Linked DNA regions of Homo sapiens: regions 2, 3 and 4 are each linked to region 1. Evidence: promoter capture Hi-C in human tissues and cell types (Jung and others, 2019). All regions are on one chromosome and are shown on one strand. The core of a region is centred on a gene start or on the middle of the fragment in contact, and the rest is flanking DNA. Distances in the headings are between cores, read along the strand shown. Region 1 holds the start of CRADD (CARD and death domain containing adaptor protein). Region 2 overlaps PLEKHG7 (pleckstrin homology and RhoGEF domain containing G7). Region 3 overlaps TMCC3 (transmembrane and coiled-coil domain family 3). Region 4 holds the start of PLEKHG7 (pleckstrin homology and RhoGEF domain containing G7).

The links. The method cuts DNA at HindIII sites, captures the fragments that hold promoters and counts their contacts. A contact is called where the count stands out against the background at its distance.
Region 2: a fragment that was not itself captured here is called in contact with the fragment with the promoter of CRADD in region 1 in 1 of the 25 tissues and cell types used here (spleen).
Region 3: a fragment that was not itself captured here is called in contact with the fragment with the promoter of CRADD in region 1 in 1 of the 25 tissues and cell types used here (spleen).
Region 4: a contact is called between the fragment with the promoter of PLEKHG7 here and the fragment with the promoter of CRADD in region 1, in 1 of the 25 tissues and cell types used here (adrenal gland).

Annotation. Positions count from the first base shown.
Region 1 is chr12:93,675,379-93,680,240 of GRCh38, reverse strand. It overlaps CRADD (CARD and death domain containing adaptor protein), which reads right to left and starts at 2,866. Exons shown (of 3, transcript NM_003805.5): 1 at 2,769-2,866; 2 at 1,169-1,472. The coding sequence starts at 1,466. RefSeq lists enhancers at 364-1,178, 1,995-2,809, 2,782-3,021, 2,810-3,625. The HindIII fragment of the contact is 15,222 bases long and covers 1-4,862 here.
Region 2 is chr12:92,768,787-92,773,153 of GRCh38, reverse strand. PLEKHG7 (pleckstrin homology and RhoGEF domain containing G7) reads right to left here. Exons shown (of 17, transcript NM_001377329.1): 16 at 4,074-4,171; 17 at 699-3,066. The coding sequence ends at 2,959. EEA1 (early endosome antigen 1) reads left to right here. Exons shown (of 29, transcript NM_003566.4): 29 at 1-2,517. Among named protein-coding and RNA genes, the nearest start is that of PLEKHG7, 68 kb to the right of the region's middle. RefSeq lists a silencer at 3,715-3,915. The HindIII fragment of the contact is 3,936 bases long and covers 1-3,693 here.
Region 3 is chr12:94,634,030-94,638,700 of GRCh38, reverse strand. The region is part of intron 1 of TMCC3 (transmembrane and coiled-coil domain family 3); the gene reads left to right. Among named protein-coding and RNA genes, the nearest start is that of TMCC3, 14 kb to the left of the region's middle. The HindIII fragment of the contact is 3,075 bases long and covers 1,354-4,428 here.
Region 4 is chr12:92,700,985-92,705,862 of GRCh38, reverse strand. PLEKHG7 (pleckstrin homology and RhoGEF domain containing G7) reads right to left here and starts at 2,874. Exons shown (of 17, transcript NM_001377329.1): 1 at 2,731-2,874. RefSeq lists an enhancer at 2,674-2,733. The HindIII fragment of the contact is 15,061 bases long and covers 1-4,878 here.

The DNA of each region.
Region 1 (4,862 bases), core at 1,617-4,116:
GTTAAAAATTTGCAAGCCAACTTTCAATTACTTTTTTTTTTCAATTTTTAATTTTTGCCAGTTCAGTTCTCTGCCCCTCTATCTTTGTGAAACAGAGTCAAGGGAGGTTAAGAAAAAGCAAGTGTTTCCATATCACATCTTCTTCCTGCTACAAGCCAGGCTAACAGAACCAGAACTGTTTCTCTCTTCTCCAGCTTCCAATTCTCCTTCAAATTAAACTGAGACCCTCCCCAAACTATTGCTCTTTGCAAAATTAAATACTCCAGTGTCTGAACAAAGCTAAACTAAAAAGGACACTTTAAACGAATAACCTTTAAAAACAAACTAAGTCAGCCTTCAAAATAATCCCCTTTGGCCACACAGGACAGCCCAGGGGACAGGTGCAGGGCATGCCTTCCTAGAGGCTGTCTCCTCCTCCATGAATCTGACCTTTTCCAGCTGGTAGCTCTGGCACCTCACAAATCAGTTGTCAGTAGGCCGAATGCCTGCTTTCCCATCTGCACTTTCCAAATGGCTCCTGATGCCAACGGCTGAGATATGACCTGGCTCTCTGATGAGAACATGCTTCCCAAGTGACATGCCAGGTTTCCTGGAAGCATTTCTAAATGCATTCTCTGAGCTCCCTCCCTCACCTCCCAGTCACGGTTCATTCTTCCTTCCCTGCACTTCCTAATGCCACCTCCTGATCCTATTCCTCCAACGTCATGTCCCTTCAGTCCCAAATCCTTACCCACTTTCATCAACCATTGACCCTTGTCCTGCCTTACATCCCAACTTCAAATCCAAAGGGCATAGTTCTGGCTAGGTGTGGTGGCTCACGTCTGTAATCCCAGCACTTTGGGAGGCGGAGGTGGGTGGATCACCTGAGGTACGGAGTTCGAGACCAGCCTGGCCAACATGATGAAACCCCATCTCTACTAAAAATACAAAACTTAGCAGGGCATGGTGGCAAATGCCTGTATTCCCAGCAACTCGGGAGGCTGAAGCAAGTGAATTGCTTGAACCCAGGAAGCAGAGGTTGCAGTGAGCCGAGATCACACCATTGCACTCCAGCCTGGGCAACAGAGCAAGACTCTGTCTCAAAAACAAACAAACAAATAAACAAAAAAGCAAAGAGCATAGTTACAACATTTTGGAGCTGGTTCAAAGTGATCTTTCTGAGGCCTACCTGCAGGCAGGTCGGTCATGGCCTCTTCCCTTGCCTTCTTCAGCTTCTCCCTGACCCAGGGAAACTCCTGTAGGGAATCTAGGAATGTATCAAATGCTTTAGGGCCCCTGGAAGGTAGGATATCCAGCAGGAGCATTGTTTTCCGGAGGCCTGTGGTTTGAGCATTGATTTCTTGAATATGGTTTTCCGTCAAGATTCCTTCCTGGTAGAGGTACTGAAGAACCAGTCCCTCCACCAATACCTCTGCACCCAGCTCCAGGCGAAGTGAGCGGAGTACTTGTTTGTCTCTGGCCTCCATTTCTCCCTGGAAAGAGCCAAAATCACAGCTCAAATTACAGACATGTTGATGTGGCCCTAAAGACAGTGTCACTGCAATGTAAGTTCCTTCAGGTCAAGCACATCTTTAAACCATAGCAGACTGCCAGGTCATGGTATTTAATTCACTGATTAAGCCAAGCCAGGTTAATTTTGAATGTTTCCTAACATAATGAACAACAATGAAGATGAATCATCTTTTCTGTTTCTGCTTTTCACACAATGGGGTCCCAGCTCAATTCCTCGTTCAATAAAGAAATTTGGAAAAAGAAAAAAAAAAAGTGGGTCAGAGACCCTTCTGAACAAGCAATTTTTATCTGAAGATTACAGAGCAGCACTAATTTTAACACGCTGGAGAAGAAATGGTGGTTTTATTTTCACATTGCCCTCATCAGACCTGCACCACCACCACCAAGGCAGAAACTGCCAAGGTGGACGCAGGTCCCCTTTTTTTGATCACAAGTATTTGCAAAACCTGATCAGTAATAGGAGTGCAGGACAGAAATCAGCAGGTTCAGAATTTAAGGCTCTTTTCGCTAAAAGTCCTCTACACGATCACCTTTAAGAAAATTGTTGTTTGTGCCCAGTCTACAATAAACTTTACACAATATACAGTCACAGACTCCATTCCTTCCCACTAAGAATTCCGAATCTCCAGCACAACACTGTCGTGGCCGCACATGCATGGGACATTTTATGGGATTTTTTTCTTTCAAAAAAAGCACACACCCCAGCACTGGTCAGTAGCCAGGCACGATTTGAAGGTGCAGTTCCACCACCCCTGCACCAGTGTGCTGTGGCTTGGTTGTGTGTAAGGCAGTGAAGGTTAAGTGACCGGGAAGGCAGGCAGGGATGACAGATGGGGCTTCAGACACACCCGGGCAGTACGACCACGGCTAGGCGACACCCGATCCCACACTCCCCCTCGCAACCCTGTAAAGTTCAGGAGGTGACAGGTGAGGAGGGGAGGTGTTCACGTTTGGCCGTGAGCGCCCATTGGGAACTATTTAAAAAGGCTCTGCTTCGGCCGCTGAAACCCTTGTATCAAACAGGAAGACTACGGGCGGTTTCTGCGGCAACTTGACCCGCTAAAGAGGGAGTGCTGGGAATGAACTAAAGAGCGGACCAAGGGGAGAGCGGGCCTCCGGCACTGCCGCAGCCACCCAGCCTTGGCCCGGATCGGAAATGCGGAGCAAGTTAGCGGGGCGGGGAAGCCCCCGCAGGGCCCAGGTCGCAGACGCTACAATGCAGGACTTTCAAAGAAAGATGGATTCCTGTTACTTACGTCTGCAACCACGTATCTTTGGGGCGGGGGAGAAAAACTGCAACCGGAATCCTGACTGTTAGGGAACCTGCCCCATAAGCACCATCTTTGTTAATGGCGAAAACCCTAAACAGGAAGTGTTGACACCATCTTTGTTGAGGGCAAGTACAGGAAGTGCTGTCGCCATTTTTATTGAGCGTTCAAGGGTCGGATCGAAGCTCTTCCCGCCATGCTTACTGTGGGTAAACAATTCAATAGCGGGGAGATGGACAACCGTAGTGTCACTTAAAGGGTATCTAAGTAATGGAGTAATTGAATCATTGCATTTTAACACAGTAACTCCATCAGGGCCTCGCACACAATTGACCTAACAGAGAGGCAGGTCAAAAGCCACCCTAGTAGAGAAGCCTTCTCTGACCTATCTGATTAAAACGGCAAGACAGCTGCGCTCATTTCCTGCACTCCCCATTAACCAGCTTTATTTTTTACGCATCACCATCTTATTAAAACTTTTCACTTATTCATTTGTTTATCCTTCTGCTTCCCTCCATTAAAATGCAAGGTCATTTATTTATATCAAGGGTTCCTGCCCGCAAAGAGTTTACAAATCTGTCAGTCAGGATTTCATTGCAGCACTCAGCTAGTTACTCCTAGTCAGAAAGGGATTCGTTAGGGGGAATTGGGGACATTCGAAATCATTGGAAAGGCTGGAGAAGGGCTGAGCTGAACATCCATGGATGACTACCTAGATAAGATTGCTGATTGTGGCTGCTGCCCACAATCAGGAAGATGGCGTCAGGAAGTTGCCATGCCTGGTCCCCAACCTCCTCTCAACACCGACAGAACAATTAACAGGACACTGGAACAGTGCTGCAAAAAACGGTGGTCTCCACGGCTGCATTTGCCAGCAGCAAGAAAACAGCACCTGCAAATCTTGCTTTGCTGCGTGCCATTGGTGAGACCAATCTGACATGCAGAATATTAGCAGCAAGGATGTCTAGAGCATGTAGTTGGTAGCTTTCCAGCTTGTGAAACACAAAAAGGTATAGTAAATGAGGGAAGGCCTGACACTTAAAGCCAATCTACTGCATCCACCACATTTTCAATGTGGAAAGCAAGAAAAAATGCATGACCCAAATACAGAGAAACACAGCAATGCCAAATTGGGTGTCCTTCCTCACATTCCTTTGTGAAGCGAGGCAGGCGATCAATAAATACATTCATTGATTCATTTTTAAATCAATTGGATGATACATACAGAAAGTCATATGCTTACTAAAAATCAGTTGACAGTACAGGGGGAAAAAACTCCTAAAATATTATTTCTGCAAAGGTTTTCACAGCCAAACCCTTTGGTGGAAAATGAAAATATCTTTGTTAAGCAAATCAATGGAGAACAGTTCTGAACCTCCCTCCTCAAAACCTTCTAAAAATTGTATTCAATTTACAGCATTACTATGCCAGTTACCATTTTACTACACCGTTAATGACAGTATTTTTACCTATGTGGCAAGTATTATTATTATTACAGTCATGCATTGCATAACAATATTTGGGTCAATGACAGACTGCATATATGATGGTGGTCAGAGCAATAGGCTATGCTATATGGCCTAAGTATGTAGTAGGCTATACCATCTAGGTTTGCATAAGTACATCCTATTTTGTTTGCACAATGACACATTTTTCACAATGTATCTCCACTGTTACAACTGTTTTAGCATTTGCATGTATAAAGACTGTGGAATCAGAATGGTCAATTGTCTTAGGCAAAATCTCACAGCTAATATAGAGCAAAACTTGAAGTCTAATGAAGTTTCTCTGATTTCATGCTCTTTCCAATACACCATACAACCTTGTATAGTGAAGAGTTTATTGTTCTAATGATAGCCAAATATTATTTGCAAATCATCCTGTTGCCACCTCCCATTCTTGATACTCTTGAGTTCCAGGTGCTCTCTTTTCTCTCTCCCTTTTCCCCTTTTGCTTGAGAATCATTGTCCTTTCCTCAGCAAGATTTCCCATCTGTTCATAGACAAATGTTAGCACCATTCTTTGTCTTCATCCAGATAAAGTGCAGACCACTTGCAACACTGCCAAGCGTTGAAGTTTACA
Region 2 (4,367 bases), core at 476-2,975, 910 kb after region 1:
TAAAAAAATGCACTTTGGCTATAAAACCATGGATGATTTGATCCATAAGATTTAAATGTGCCACCATTATAGTATTCCTAGACATGAGCTTGATGAATGGTATTCTGTAATTATAACGTGCCACACATTATTGTGTCTTAATTGCCCTTAGCCTGAATTTTAATGATCAATTTGTTATTGTTGCAGATGTGAATATTGTGCATAAACTTACTAAATTTATGTAAAATTGTATAAAATAGAATTAGAAGTCACTAAGTTCTTTCTGTGTAGAAGTAATAAATTTATTGTAACACAATGCAGTTGTGTATATGACATTCTGTAATTCCTTGAACTGGATCATATATTCATAAGTTCTGTAGATACTTATGCATGAACATTTTCTCATTTAGTTTTTGGGTTCATTATTTGTATTGTGTTTACTACTTGTGATCATGTAGTTGTGCCTTACTTTGTGAGAAAGGTTAGCTCAGTAAATACTGCAATTTCTAAACTCAGTGATTGGAAGGTTATTAATTATAAATGTAACTGATAAAGTACGTGACAGCATTTAAATCTGTATAAAGAACAATGGAAGGATCCTTATTGAATTGTTGCTTTTTTTTAATATGTTTAAATATTATATTAAAAACATTTCTTTCTAAACTAGTTGTATTCTGTGACTATAAATTGTTTTGTCTAACAAAAGAGAGAACACTGTATTAACCATTTTGCATTAATTTATTTACAGAATATTAGGACTTTGCACTTGGATATAGACAGTGGTGTTTTAATGTTGTTCAATTTCGAATAGTAATTAAATTCCTGATCTCAAGAGAAATTATTAATGCCATTTTGCCTTAGACATTCCATTTAATATTGTAGAGAATTAACAAAACTAAAAACAAATATAAAAAATATGTAATTAACCCCTTATTTCATTGTGTGTCTGCATTTAATACCCAGATGACCATTTAAAGATACTTAAAACATTATTTATTTATTTATTTATTTATTTTTCTCCCTCCCCTCCCCAAAGATACTTTTTGGAAGGCCCAATGTGCCATTGTTTTTTGCTATTTTTTCTTCCTGGGAGCCACGGTTCTAGAATGGTTTTTGTTCTGACCCCCGTGATCCCTTCATTCGAATGTGCTTCATTCTAAACCCTCCAAAGAGTTTAATGTGCATATCCTCAAACATCTAATATATTGTATATTAGACATGTTACTTTGTGAGCTTTATAGAATTCCAGTTTATGTACAGCATATTCTTGAGCTGTTTTATATATTTTGTTAATTTAGTCAGTCTGTCTCTCCCTTTAATGAGATTCAGAGGGAGAAAACTACCTTTATACATGTAAGTCTGTGGTTGCTGGATTCATGGGACTAAAGGAATTTGAGAGGCCACCTCATCCTAGTCCACTGCTCACCTCCGAGGTTAGTTTATATCTAAACATTTGCAAGATGATTGTTAATGTAAAAATTTTTTTTAACCAGAAATTTCTTTATAAAATCTTCTCTTGCATAATCTATATTGTATTCTCCTGGACATAACTGCTTTCAGTCCCATCCAGATGCCATCTCTAGGAATTCACTTGAAGCTTGAAGTCTATTCTCCCCTTTTTCTCCCCTCCACCTCATTTATTCTTAGCTATTAACAATAGTTACTGTCCTCCAGATTTTCCTTTTTTTCTTCTATTAAATTTCTGACATTATTATAAAGAGGTTATTAGTCTCCATTCTAATAGTGCTTGCCTTGTACAAAAGCCTTTCTGCTGCACTTGTCTTTACTGCTTTGTTTGCATAGTGAAATTTCACCTTCCTCAAGGAATTACTGGGCACATGACTTGCCCAAACATTATCCTCTCTACCCCATTCTTCAGCTTAACAAAATCAGCTAAGGCTTCAGTTGTCTTGCAGCCAAATTTGATAAATTTACTACTTTCACTTTGCAAATTGCAAAAGGTACGATTCTGAAATGGAAGTTTGTGGACTTCCCTTTGATGCAATAATCTGACCCTAAGAACTAGTTCCTTGAATGTAGTTAATAGTATATATCCTGCCATGATAATAATTATTCAAACTGCCTTTCATGATAAAAATTCTGAAGAAATTTGAAGTCCTGCCAAATAAAATTAAGTGACTGTACTGTGCTAACACACACACACACACACACACACACCAATCAAAACCAGAAAGTATTTTTATGGCAAACACCATCATTCTTCAAAAAATAAAGTTAAGAGACAGATACCTTACTATGTCTATGAAAATCTGTACACTTCACAACAGGCCAAGAAAAGCCATGCAAAAGTGTTAACTGGTGAAAGCCAGATTTTTTTTTTCTTCCTATCTTAAAGTAATGGAATTTAGTCTTTGGGATTTTCTACTTCCACGTTAGAGTACTATATACCTGAGATGAGTTTGAGAATAGGAATTTTAAAACTGCTACTTAAATGTAGTCCCTATTTATTGCTTTGTATATTAAAAGAACAATCAAGCTTTGTATCTAAAGATTTATCATTATGTTTGAGGTAGGACTATAAAGCGGTTAAGACTGATTGACAGGCCATGAAGGAAAATTGGTTTCATTATTTTATGGATACAGAGTAAGATGCTGGAGTTCATATTGGACATAAGCAGTGGACATTGTTTTCCTTCTGATACTCCATTTATCTGATCATTCACCCTTTACAAATTAGCACCTTTCTTCACTCACACCTCTTACAAACCTGACGGAAGCATTAGAAGGTAATCTGGATGTCAGTATATATTTGTCAAGAAATTCCTCAGAGTTCAAATTTGTTGCAGTCATTATTCCTCTATACTGAGGATTTTCCTAGCTCAAAATTTCAAATTCTGAAACTTCTTTAAAATGCAAATTTCCTTCTAGCTTATCACTAGCTAAGTGTTACAAAACTTTGAATGAAATTATACCTTAAACCATAATCTTCTAAAAAGACATGCCACTTGTTTTAGGTCCCTAAATTTCAGAGGATTCTGCGGGCAATGTGAATAAAGATATTTTCTTGGTTTCCTGACTCTTGGTAAAGCAAGAAATTGCAGTTGTTATTTGTGCCATCCATGTTTTCTGTTGAAAAAAAGAAAAAAATACATAAATAGAGATTAGAATGTTAAGCTGACAATTTCTCACATATTTGGGCTAATATTTTCTGCTATATTTATTGACCAGCTCTTTAAAACTGAAGACTAATGAAACATTTGCATATGTTTCCCATTTTCTTTCTTACATCTAATATAAATACTTCTAATCTTACAGGAAAATGCAGATGGGCTAAATGAGTATGGTATGCATGTTGGATAACAGTTATGAGTAATCAAGAAACAATAGTCAATGATAACTCATTAGAAAAATGAGCACTGAGAATATATGTAGTTTGAAAGTGGCATTGCTGGAATTTCTATTCTCTGTGGAAACAAGTTCTTAACCTGTAGTATAACTTGAAAGAGACTGAGGGCAGTGACCCAGGAAATTGAATATTGCATTTGTTGTCTGGCCACATTGTAGATATGATGAAAGCCTACCAGGGGAAATACAAAAATAGAAACTTCTAAGACAGAGAAACCAGAGTCAGGCAGCTGCTCTTTCAACTCCATAGCTGTAAAAACAATGGCAGTTTTTCAAAGGTTGACAAGCTGACTTGACAGGGATCATTATTGCGCCAGGCCCTCCTTAAGCTAATATCCTATTATATGCACTTTGGAAACTGATTGGAGCATCTTAAAGGTTCATCATGCAATCCAAATCAATTCTTCCCCCATTTCCTACAGAAACTGTAGAACGCAGGCAGTTCTTGAGCTTCTGCAGGAGAACTCTGCAAGCGTGAGGAAATTGTTCCTCAACCCCGCAAGTGTGAGGAAATTGTTCCTCAACCCCACAAGTGTGAGGAAATTGTCAATACTGAGGCTTTTGAGCATTATATGGACTAGATGTACCCCTCCCCTCCTCCCAAATCTGCCCTTCCCAAGTGGGTGAGAGAAAAACACAAAACTTTCCATTCACTGTTACTTAAGACACTTGGGGGGAGCTTATGTAAACTCTGAAGAATCAAAGACCTACAAAATTAAAATACATACTTTGATGTTTTCCGTTTGGGCTTGTAATAAGAATGCTGCTATACACTGTCGATATCTGTTTTCGTGTTGTATAAGAAAAGCATTTCTCAGCCCAAAGACTAGAAAAAGATATTACAAAGACAAAAAGCCAAATCATTTCATATGAAATCCAAACAATTTCTTAGTACAAGAATCTGGGGTTTGTTTTCTATTTGGCTTGTTTCTGTTTTAACGAGGGTGGGAGGTTTATCTAGCTTATAATTTTTTTTTAAATTTTATTTCAATGCCAAGACCCCACCACTATGTCCAAATAAA
Region 3 (4,671 bases), core at 1,642-4,141, 960 kb before region 1:
TGGAACAGGTGGCCTCTATTTGCAGCTGAATCACTGGTTGGCATAGATTTAATTTATCTGACAATATGAAGCCCATTCAGTAAGAGCTGTTCAGACTCTATGTATTGGCATCAGGCAAAGTGCCTGAAAGCCCCACTAGAAAGCACGGGAGACAGGAAGGAAGATGGAAGAAATACAAGGAAGAGTGTGCTGCTTCCATTCCATCCTACATGTTGAATGCAGAATGGGTGAAAGGATATGGTCGAGGGATGCATGTGAAGATGCTTGAGAGGGGTGCTTATAGATATTTCTCCAGAGGAGGAAGAGGTGGCAAATGTCTCCTTTGAATCCACCCCATAAGATGGCATGGTGCAAGAGGACCTCATGCTGTCCTCATGTTTTTAATATGAGCACATATTCAGGCATGGGGGAAAGAGCATGTCCCACGTGACTCAGCTTAAGTGCTCAAGTTGAGATACCTTAAGACACCTCTAGTGACATCAGAGATGGTCCCCAGATTATGACCTTCTCCAGCTAGATCACTCTTTTATTTTTACATTGAGTGTATATTTTGCGTAGTGTCTTGTCAATGTTTTGCTTCAAATTCTTCAATAGGACAGAAGCCCAGCTTCTTAGACACCCAGAGTCTCTCATCTGACCTTTGCTTTTCACCCACTCTTGGTCCTTGAACTCCGGTCTCCTTTCTTTGTGGACTCCCATGCCTCCCTCTGTGCCTGTGGGTACCTGCCCCATCCTCTCTCATGGAGATAGTTGTGTTCTTTTTTCTAGGCATGGAGCATTGGACATAGTTGGAGCTTTGTAAATATTGACTGAATGAGTGAATGTGTGTATGTTGTGAAATTGTACTGTGGGACTTGAGAAGCTGGAAAGCTTATTCTACTCTTGATCCATATCAATTCAGATTAATTTGCCTTGTTTTAATTGCTGCACAGGATCCCCATGTATGGCTATACCATCATTTATTTAACCATTTTCTTATTAAAGGACAGGTATATTGCTTCCAGTCTTTGGTCATTACTTATTTTTGCACATGTGAGGAATATGTTAGCAGGCTAAATTCACAAGCATCTAATTACTCAGCCAAAGGGCATGTGCATTTTAAATTATGATATTACCACGCTGAACACTGCACCTACTCTGTGTTGAACACTGGGAGCTAAGGATGCAGCACTGAACAACACTGGTAAACTTTGTGTAACTATCATTAATGTGTGAACATGCCTTTACCCACATCGCTTCGGACACAGCATGTTTTCAACTGTTTTGATCCTTGCCAATCTGATAGGTGAAAACTCCTAGCCCATTTCAATGTATATCTTTCCTGGTATGGATGAGGTTGGTCATATTTTTAAAATTTTTATTTTGAAATAATTACAGCTCTACAGAAATTTGCACAAAATAGTACAGAGATGTCCCATGTACCCCTCACCCAGCTTCTCCCAATGATTGCATTTTATGTAACTATAGTACAATAGATCATATTTTCATAGACTAAAAAGACATTTGTCTGTGTTTATGAGCTGTTTATATGTATGTTCTTGCCATTTATCTATTGGCTGTTGGTCTTTTACATAGATTTGTATTGGTTTTCTACTAATTAAATTAATTGCTTTGCAAGTACATTTTTCCCAGCTTGTCATTCCTGACTCTATTTTTTTTTTAACTGTTGTGTAACAAAGTACCATAAACTGAGCAACTTCAAAAAACAACACCCATTTAATTATCTCAGAGTTTCCATAGGCCTGGAGTCCAGCTGCAGCTTAACTGCATCATCTGCCAAGTGTGTCATCAGCCTGAAATCAAGGTGTCAACCAGGACTGCAATCTCTTCTTAAGCTTGGGATCCTTTCCCAAGCTCACTGGATATTTACAAGATTAGGTTTCTTGCAACTGTAGACCTGAGGCCCTCAGCCGCCAGAGGCTGTTCACTGTTTTCTGCCACAGGGCATGTTCCATAGCACGACAGTTTGTTTCTTCAGGGCCAATGAACAGCATCTTTGTTGCATTTTGTCTTTTACTTCTAGATCCTCTTTTAAGGAGTTCACCTGATTAGTTTAGGCCCACCTAGGCACTCTCCCTTTTGATTAATTAAAATCAACTGATTAGGGGCCTTAATTATGTCTGCAAAATTCCTTTATTTTTCCATATAACATAATGTAGCCATAGGAGTGAAATTCCATCATGTTCAAAAGTCTTGCTTGTGGGAGGGTACCATCGTGGGAATCATCTTAGAATTCTGCCTGTTGCCCTGAATTATATGTTTGGTGTGTGCTGAGCATAGAGCTAGTGGATAGCAAGCGCTGAATAAATACTAACCATATTTTGCCATGAAGAAATCTACACATTTTCTGGTTTATAGGTTTGTATCATTCTTAGAATGGCCTTTGTACTTTGAGATTTTTTAAAAGCCCACATGCCCATGTTCTCCTAATATATTTTATGATTTTTATTTTTGTATATTTGAATCTTTGAATGAGTTAGAATTATTCAATTCCTTTTCAGATGTCTATACAGTTATCCCAGGGCAATTTTTTGCATTGTTACCTGTCTTTAAAAATATACCGCTGTTCATATGTATCAAGTTTTGTTTTTATAAATGTCTACTTTTTCCATGAGTTTTAAATCTGTCGAACACAGAAGGTTGTAATTCTGCCACACTTATTCTGGATTGATAGTCCTCTTCCTCTTCCCTTCCCAACCTCTCCCCTCAGGGATTTGAAATGAACATTTTGAGGCCAGGCTCAGTGGCTTATGCATGTAATCCCAGCACTTTGGGAGGCCGAGGCAGGTGGATCACTTGAGGTCAGGAGTTCCAGACCAGCCTGACCAACATGGTGAAACCCTGTCTCTACTAAAAATACAAAAAAATTAGCTGGGCATGGTGGCGGGCACCTGTAATCCCAGCTACTCGGAAGGCTGAGACAGAATTGCTCGAACCTGGGAGGCGGAGGTTGCAGTGAGCCAAGATCGTGCCACTGCACTCCATCCAGCCTGGGCAACAGAGCCAGACTCCGTCTCAAAAAAAAAAAAAAAAAAAAAAACCCACATACACACACAAAAACAGGCATAACTCCAGTATTATTTACAGTAAGGAAAGACCAAAAGGCTGAGAGGAAAAGATAGCAAAGTTTTGTGCGTGTGTGTTTTAAAATTTTGCTTTTAATTCTCTTTTGAACTAAGTGTTACCTCTCATCAAATTCGACTTAATGTTATAAAATCCTGCCCTTCTACAGTTTGCAAACACTGTTATGGTACATAGAATGTGTATTGTTGCTTCCCAAACCACTGTTGCCACCTTAAGTAATTTGTGACACACCATCGCAGCTCGCAGCTCGGGAGATGGAAGAGCAGGAACCCAGCCTAACTTTGTGTTCTGCAGGTCACAGGACTACTGCTTCTGCTTTGTTAGCCCCAGACTGCTTTCAAGCCTGCACATTCCTCCTATTTAATAAACATATTTAATATCCTTGTGCTGGGATCTGTACTGGGAAATTTAAGTTGGTTTGTCACTTATGTTAGGATGGCGAATATAACAAGATTTCTGATTTGTAGGTAACGATCTGTTTCCTTATTTGGCTTAATTCTTACTTGTATGTTACTCCTGTGCCTTCCTAAATATCACTAGATGCGCTTGTGTTAATTATTGAACGGTCCACCTGCCTTGTATCTCTGCATCTGACACAGAAGGAGGTTAAAACTGGGCTGTGCCCAGAAACTAACACTTAACATTTTATAACCTGATTCAAGAGCATATTAAGAGTGGAATGAATATGCTATTTACATGTGCTTTCATTTGGGAAAGGCACCATGCTTGTAGAAGCCTCCTGACTTAAGCAAATTATCAAGTACTATGTGTTGCATAAAGCCAGCCAAAGCTTACCTCATGTGCTGGGCAATTTAGAGGCATTCACAGAATTGGTGTCTGTTAGGCATGTGGGCACCAAAATTAAAGTGAGTCTCTTTCATTCAGGTGGCTCATTTATGCCCTACCTGGGGAGCAGTAGGGACACTTACTTATGCAAAATCAGCATCTGTTTCTACCACCTAGAAATGCTTTTATTGTTTGGGTAGGTGGGAGCACATTAAATTCAACTATTGAGAAGTTTGACTCGCACTCTGGCTGTTTAAAATGATCTAATACCAAGAAAGTTTTTGAAGTACTCAGGGCTCAAATGAAGCTCTTATTTTTAAAGAAAGACTTAAAATGAGAGGTCTTGAGACTTGTTGCTGTTTAAGGACAGTTTTGCAAAGTGAGCCTACCATTCCAACAGACTTTTTTTTTTTAAACTTTTGTTTTTTTGGCCAAATAGGAAATGGATGAAATAGTCTTGCATTCTTGTGGCTTTCTTTAAATTAAATGTTGATCCTTCCCAACCCTCATTTCTTAAATAATTTTTTGCATGTTTGGGGTAATTAGAATGGTAACAGATAGATAAATAAGAATAATACATATACTGGGCCAGGCACGGTGGTTCATGCCTGTAATCCCAGCACTTTGGGAGGCCCAGCCGGGCGGATTGCCTGAGGTCAGGAGTTCGAGACCAGCCTGGCCAACACGGTGAAACCTCATCTCTACTAAAAATACAAAACATTAGCTGGTGATGGCGGGCACCTGTAATCTCAGCTACTTGAGATGCTGAGTTAGGGAAAATCGTTTGAACCCGGGAGGCGG
Region 4 (4,878 bases), core at 1,625-4,124, 970 kb after region 1:
CAATCTATGCATGCAGAATTATCTCTTCTCATGCTCAAGAAAAGCTGACCCTTCCATTTCACAGCTTGATTCATGGGAGTGGCTTATTGCAGTTTCGTTATTCTGTACTTTCCCACATGAAGAAGGTATGTGTGGGAAAACATCAATCCTTACACATCCCTTATGGCATGAGAGTTGATGCTTGATGATTTGCAGACCAGGTGTGGGACTGTGGGACAGGCGAGAGACCCATCTTCCCTGGCCGCAGATGGCATGGGAGGTGGCTTCAGACTGTGCGTGGATTGTTTGTGGATGGAACATTAGTAGTTGACCGTATATTCCAAGATCATCAATAATAGTTTTAGTAAGTTTATCATTCTAAAGCAGAACTCAGCAATCTGAAACCCTTTGCCCACATTTGGATAGCCAAAATTTAAGAATGGCTAATAATTTACTTCTTATAATTTTAATTGCATGGGCAATACTTTTTAGTAGAACTTTTCTAGGGTGTATTATTTGCTTCTTTAACTTGATATAGAGAAGGCTGAAAACCAATAAACCTTTTCCTTATAACCTGACCTCATTCTGTTGACTATCATTCTAGTACTTTGCCAAAATACAGTGATTACTACTATGTTTACTATAGTTCTGTGGAGAATACAATAATTGTTACAGGCTTCTATAGCATCTGAATATTCACTCCCACACCAAATGGCCCCACACCAATGTACTCCCTAATTTTTATTCCTTACTTCTCACTATGCTTTTTGTACTTGCCTATGGCAACCACTCTCTCCTCTTTGTTTCTTTTAATCTGTGTCAGTCATAGAAGTCCAACAACCTTGTGAATAGATAATTAATAGGTTGTTAGATCTATTCCTATCAGTAGAGGAGGAGCTCAATGTTATGACATTGTCATGACAATGTTGTGACTTGACATTGATTTTGGGGACTTTGTGGTCTCTTATTTTACTCCCTGACTCTTACCTTGTTTAAGGTCAAGTAAGTCCAGGCACAGAGGCTCATGCCTGTAATCCGAGCACTTTGGGAGGCAAAGGCGGGAGGATCCCTTGAGCCTAGAAGTTCAAGACCAGCCTGGGCAACATAGTGAGACCCCATCTCTATAAAAACCTTTTTAAAATGCCAAATGAAACTAACAGGTACTGGATTTCAGACTGGTGAGTTGTTTGAGGAACAACTTAGATGCAAACTAACGTCAATTCAACTCTTATTCACAAAAGAAATCTAAAATTCTTAATGTTGTGTTTGCTTTATTTTGAGCTGAGGACTCAATTGTTATAGAACTTCACATGTAGAACTAAAACCCATGAGGTACCCTTTTTTGCAGAGTGGAGGAAAGAGGGCAATGCCAGTTTAGGAAACTTATGTTCAGTTAAGGTGAGATTGTACTAGTTTTGGTTTTAGATTGGTAATTCCTGGAGGCTGCTCTGAAGGTTGATACCAACATTGCTGGAGAGGTATGAAATGGTCCCTCCCTACCATTGATAAAATAAGGTACATTGTTGCTACATGGAGAGGCCAGTTCCTCATTCTCCCAACAAACAAATGCTGAGCTGAGCATCAAATCTATAGGTACTTTCTTTCTTTTTTTTTTTCTTTTTAGAGATGGAGTCTGGCTCTGTCGCCCAGGCTGAGTGCAGAGGTGTGATCATATCGCACTGTAACCTCAAACTCCTAGCCTCACAGAATCCTCATGCTGCAGTGCTCCTGAGTAGTTGGGGCTATGGATGCTTACCACCCCACCCAGCTAATTTTGAATCAATAGGTACTTTCACACATACATACAATCAGGGCCGTTCTATTATTTTTCTCCTTTAGAAGACTGTCCAAGTTCTAGGCAGCAACAATGTTAAAGGAATTCAGTATATTTGCATAGGCACTTGCATAATAGTTAGATCAGATTTCTTAGTCTTTGGGTTTCCCCTCTGTCCTTCTGGCCTTTTCCTCTCCTCTTTTGAGGGGTTAGGATACGGCTTTGGGTTTCCTTTGTAGTCGTTCAGACACAGGGGTGTAGCTGCTGGTAGGAAGTTATTTATGGCCAATAGGATTCACATCGGTAAGAATTATTTATTAGCCACTGTCTTAAATATTGGAACCAAGGCAATAGTAACTGCCGACATGATGCACTGCGGAAATGGAGAAACTTTAAAAACAGCAGGGCTTAGGGAGGTGGTTTGCAGAAAGGCAGGAAGAGCTCAAGCACCAGAAGAAATGGGTCTGGTTTCTCTTCCAGTATCACCGCCAATTGGCTGTGTGACCTAGGACAAGCCACTTCTCCTCTGCCAACTGCCATGCAGCATTTACCAAGAGGACATCAAAGAACCTCCCTCACAGGCCTGTTGCAGAAATTAAATGAGATAATGGCTAAGGCTCCTGGGAAGCTTTCCCTAAATGACTACACCCAGTGGATCTGGTAGAATCAAAAGTTAACAAGTCAATCCATTCATGCTAACTCTTCTTTATGTTTAAAAGAGGAAATTAATACATGGTCACCATAAAGAAAATTCACCAACCTTTGACCTTCCAAGCTTTGAGAATCCAGCAAACACCCACCCACACTGTTGGGGAAGCCATCTCACTGTACTAGAAATGAAACCATTGCAGGTTAATGATTCACTAATTCTAATGAGACCTGGAGAGATCAGCAAAACAAGCGAAACTGATAGCAATAGGACAAAAGGAAAGTGCAAGAGAGAAACCCAGAAAGCAGCTGAATGTTGCCTTTAATACCTGTAAGATGGTCTGTCCCTGAAGGCAACTGCACCCAGGTGGGTCCCGAGGCTCCTCAGAACCCGCAGATCCAGAGTGAGCTGCCAGGCGAGGGCTCGGAGCAACAAGTTCCACACCTGTAACAATGCGTCCTCCTGGCTGAGTGAAAGCAACCTTGCTACCAGCTGCAATGAGGAACTGGTCTCTCCCCTCCTTAGAGACATTTCCAGTTATTTGTTTATGAAAAAGCCTAAAGGGAAGCCAGCTCAGAATCTAAGGCAGCCTAAGAACAAGTCAGGTAAACAACGGCTGATCAAATACAGAAATGATGCAAATGTAACTTTTTACTTCCTCTTGAGGCATTCAACAAATCATCACTCATAGTTCAGTGAAGCAGTTCTAGGTTTCTATTTCATTTATTTTCTCTAAGGTTGTGAGATGCATTCTTTGGGACTCTACTTTCTTCACATCATAAAACATTTTGTGTTGATCTATTTTATTAATGACTTGCTTTGATAAGCATTGAATAGTAGAGGAAATGATTAGAGCACCAGGGAGTGAATTTGTGAACATTAGTTTTCAAATAATTAAAATGCAAATGGAAGAGCATTTATATCTACCAGTATTCTCATTAGATCAGTACCCCAAAGAATATTTATTTGATGCCTAGGTGGAGATAATGCATATGTATGCAGCATTAAACAAAAATGTCTATAGACTTTCCCAAAACAAAGTTGAAGTAATTCTAATGAAGTCTAATTCACTGAAGTTTTCATTGATTGGACTCATTACAGATACTTACTGTGAAGGTTCCCTGAGGTCGGTAGTTCTTAAAGTAGGGTCCCTGGACCAGCAGTATCACTATGACTTGAGAACTTGTTAGAAAGGAAAAATCTTCCCCCTCCATGCTCTCCAACCCCTGGAACTCTGGGATGGGGTCAGAAGTCCGTGGTTTTTTTTTGAGACAGGGTCTCACTCTGTCACTCAGGCTGGAGTGCAGTGGCACGATCTCAGCTCACTGCAACCTCCACCTCCTGGGTTCAAGCGATTCTCCTACCTCAGCTTCCTGTGTAGCTGAGATTACAGGTGCACACCACCAGGGCCCGGCTAACTTTTGTATTTTTAGTACAGACGGGGTTTCACCATATTGGCCAGGCTGTCCGAACTCCTGACCTCAGGTGGTCCACCCACTTCGGCCTCCCAAAGTGCTGGGATTACAGGTGTGAGCCACTGTGCCCAGCCAGAAGTCTGTGTTTAACAAGACTTCCAGGTGATTCTTACATGGGTTAAAATTTGAGAACCACTGCCCTTAGAGGAAAAGAAAAAAAGGTCTAACTTATAGATGTTGGCCTTGTGATAAACTTTATATTAGTCTTTAATTCTCTCATATTGATCTTACTAGAACATCATTTACTTAGAACTTTGAAAAATGACTTGATCTCCTGCCCTCACCACCATTGCCAACATTACCATGACTCAACCAAAAGCAGGATATCAAAAAATATTTTGCCTGCATGGAGCCTGCATAAACAGTTCTGAGCTCCTGCCAAGGATGTCTAGAAGTGAATTGCTTCAATTTGGGAAGGAAAAAAATGAATAAAGTCTTTTAGCTTTTAGTTTGTGGAAGGAAGGTCATACTCTTTTCTACCAATCCCCTCACGCACATGGGATTGTAAAGCTGTCTCTCCTAGGGGATAATGATAATGGAATACTTGATCCCAATGCAAAAACTTCCAACCTCTGGTTGTAACTTCAAGAAGGAAATTAAGAGTCTTATAGAAAGGTCACAAAAGATTATCACGGAAAAAAATGTGCCACCTCCATCTGATTTGTCAAGGAGATGGCAACAGGGAGGCATTTTGGGTGGGGAAGGGACACCCCAGAGTCAGCTTTTCCTTTAAGAACCTGGGGCAACCTCACTGTGGCCCTTTCTCAGATGACACATGGAGGTGCTCTCCAATATCGCAGAGGGAGCAGCTCGCCTCAGCATTTTTTGCCTGTGTGTAGTTTTACGTTTATGTATGCTTTGCTTCAATAAAAAGTATACCTTAAAAAGTATGTCTATGCTAAAAGATGACATCCTGGTTTGCTTACTTTATGGCTTTGAATTGGCAAATTCCTAAAAGATATTTTCTTTCTAGTTGTTGAAAAGAGGTATGAGATTTATTT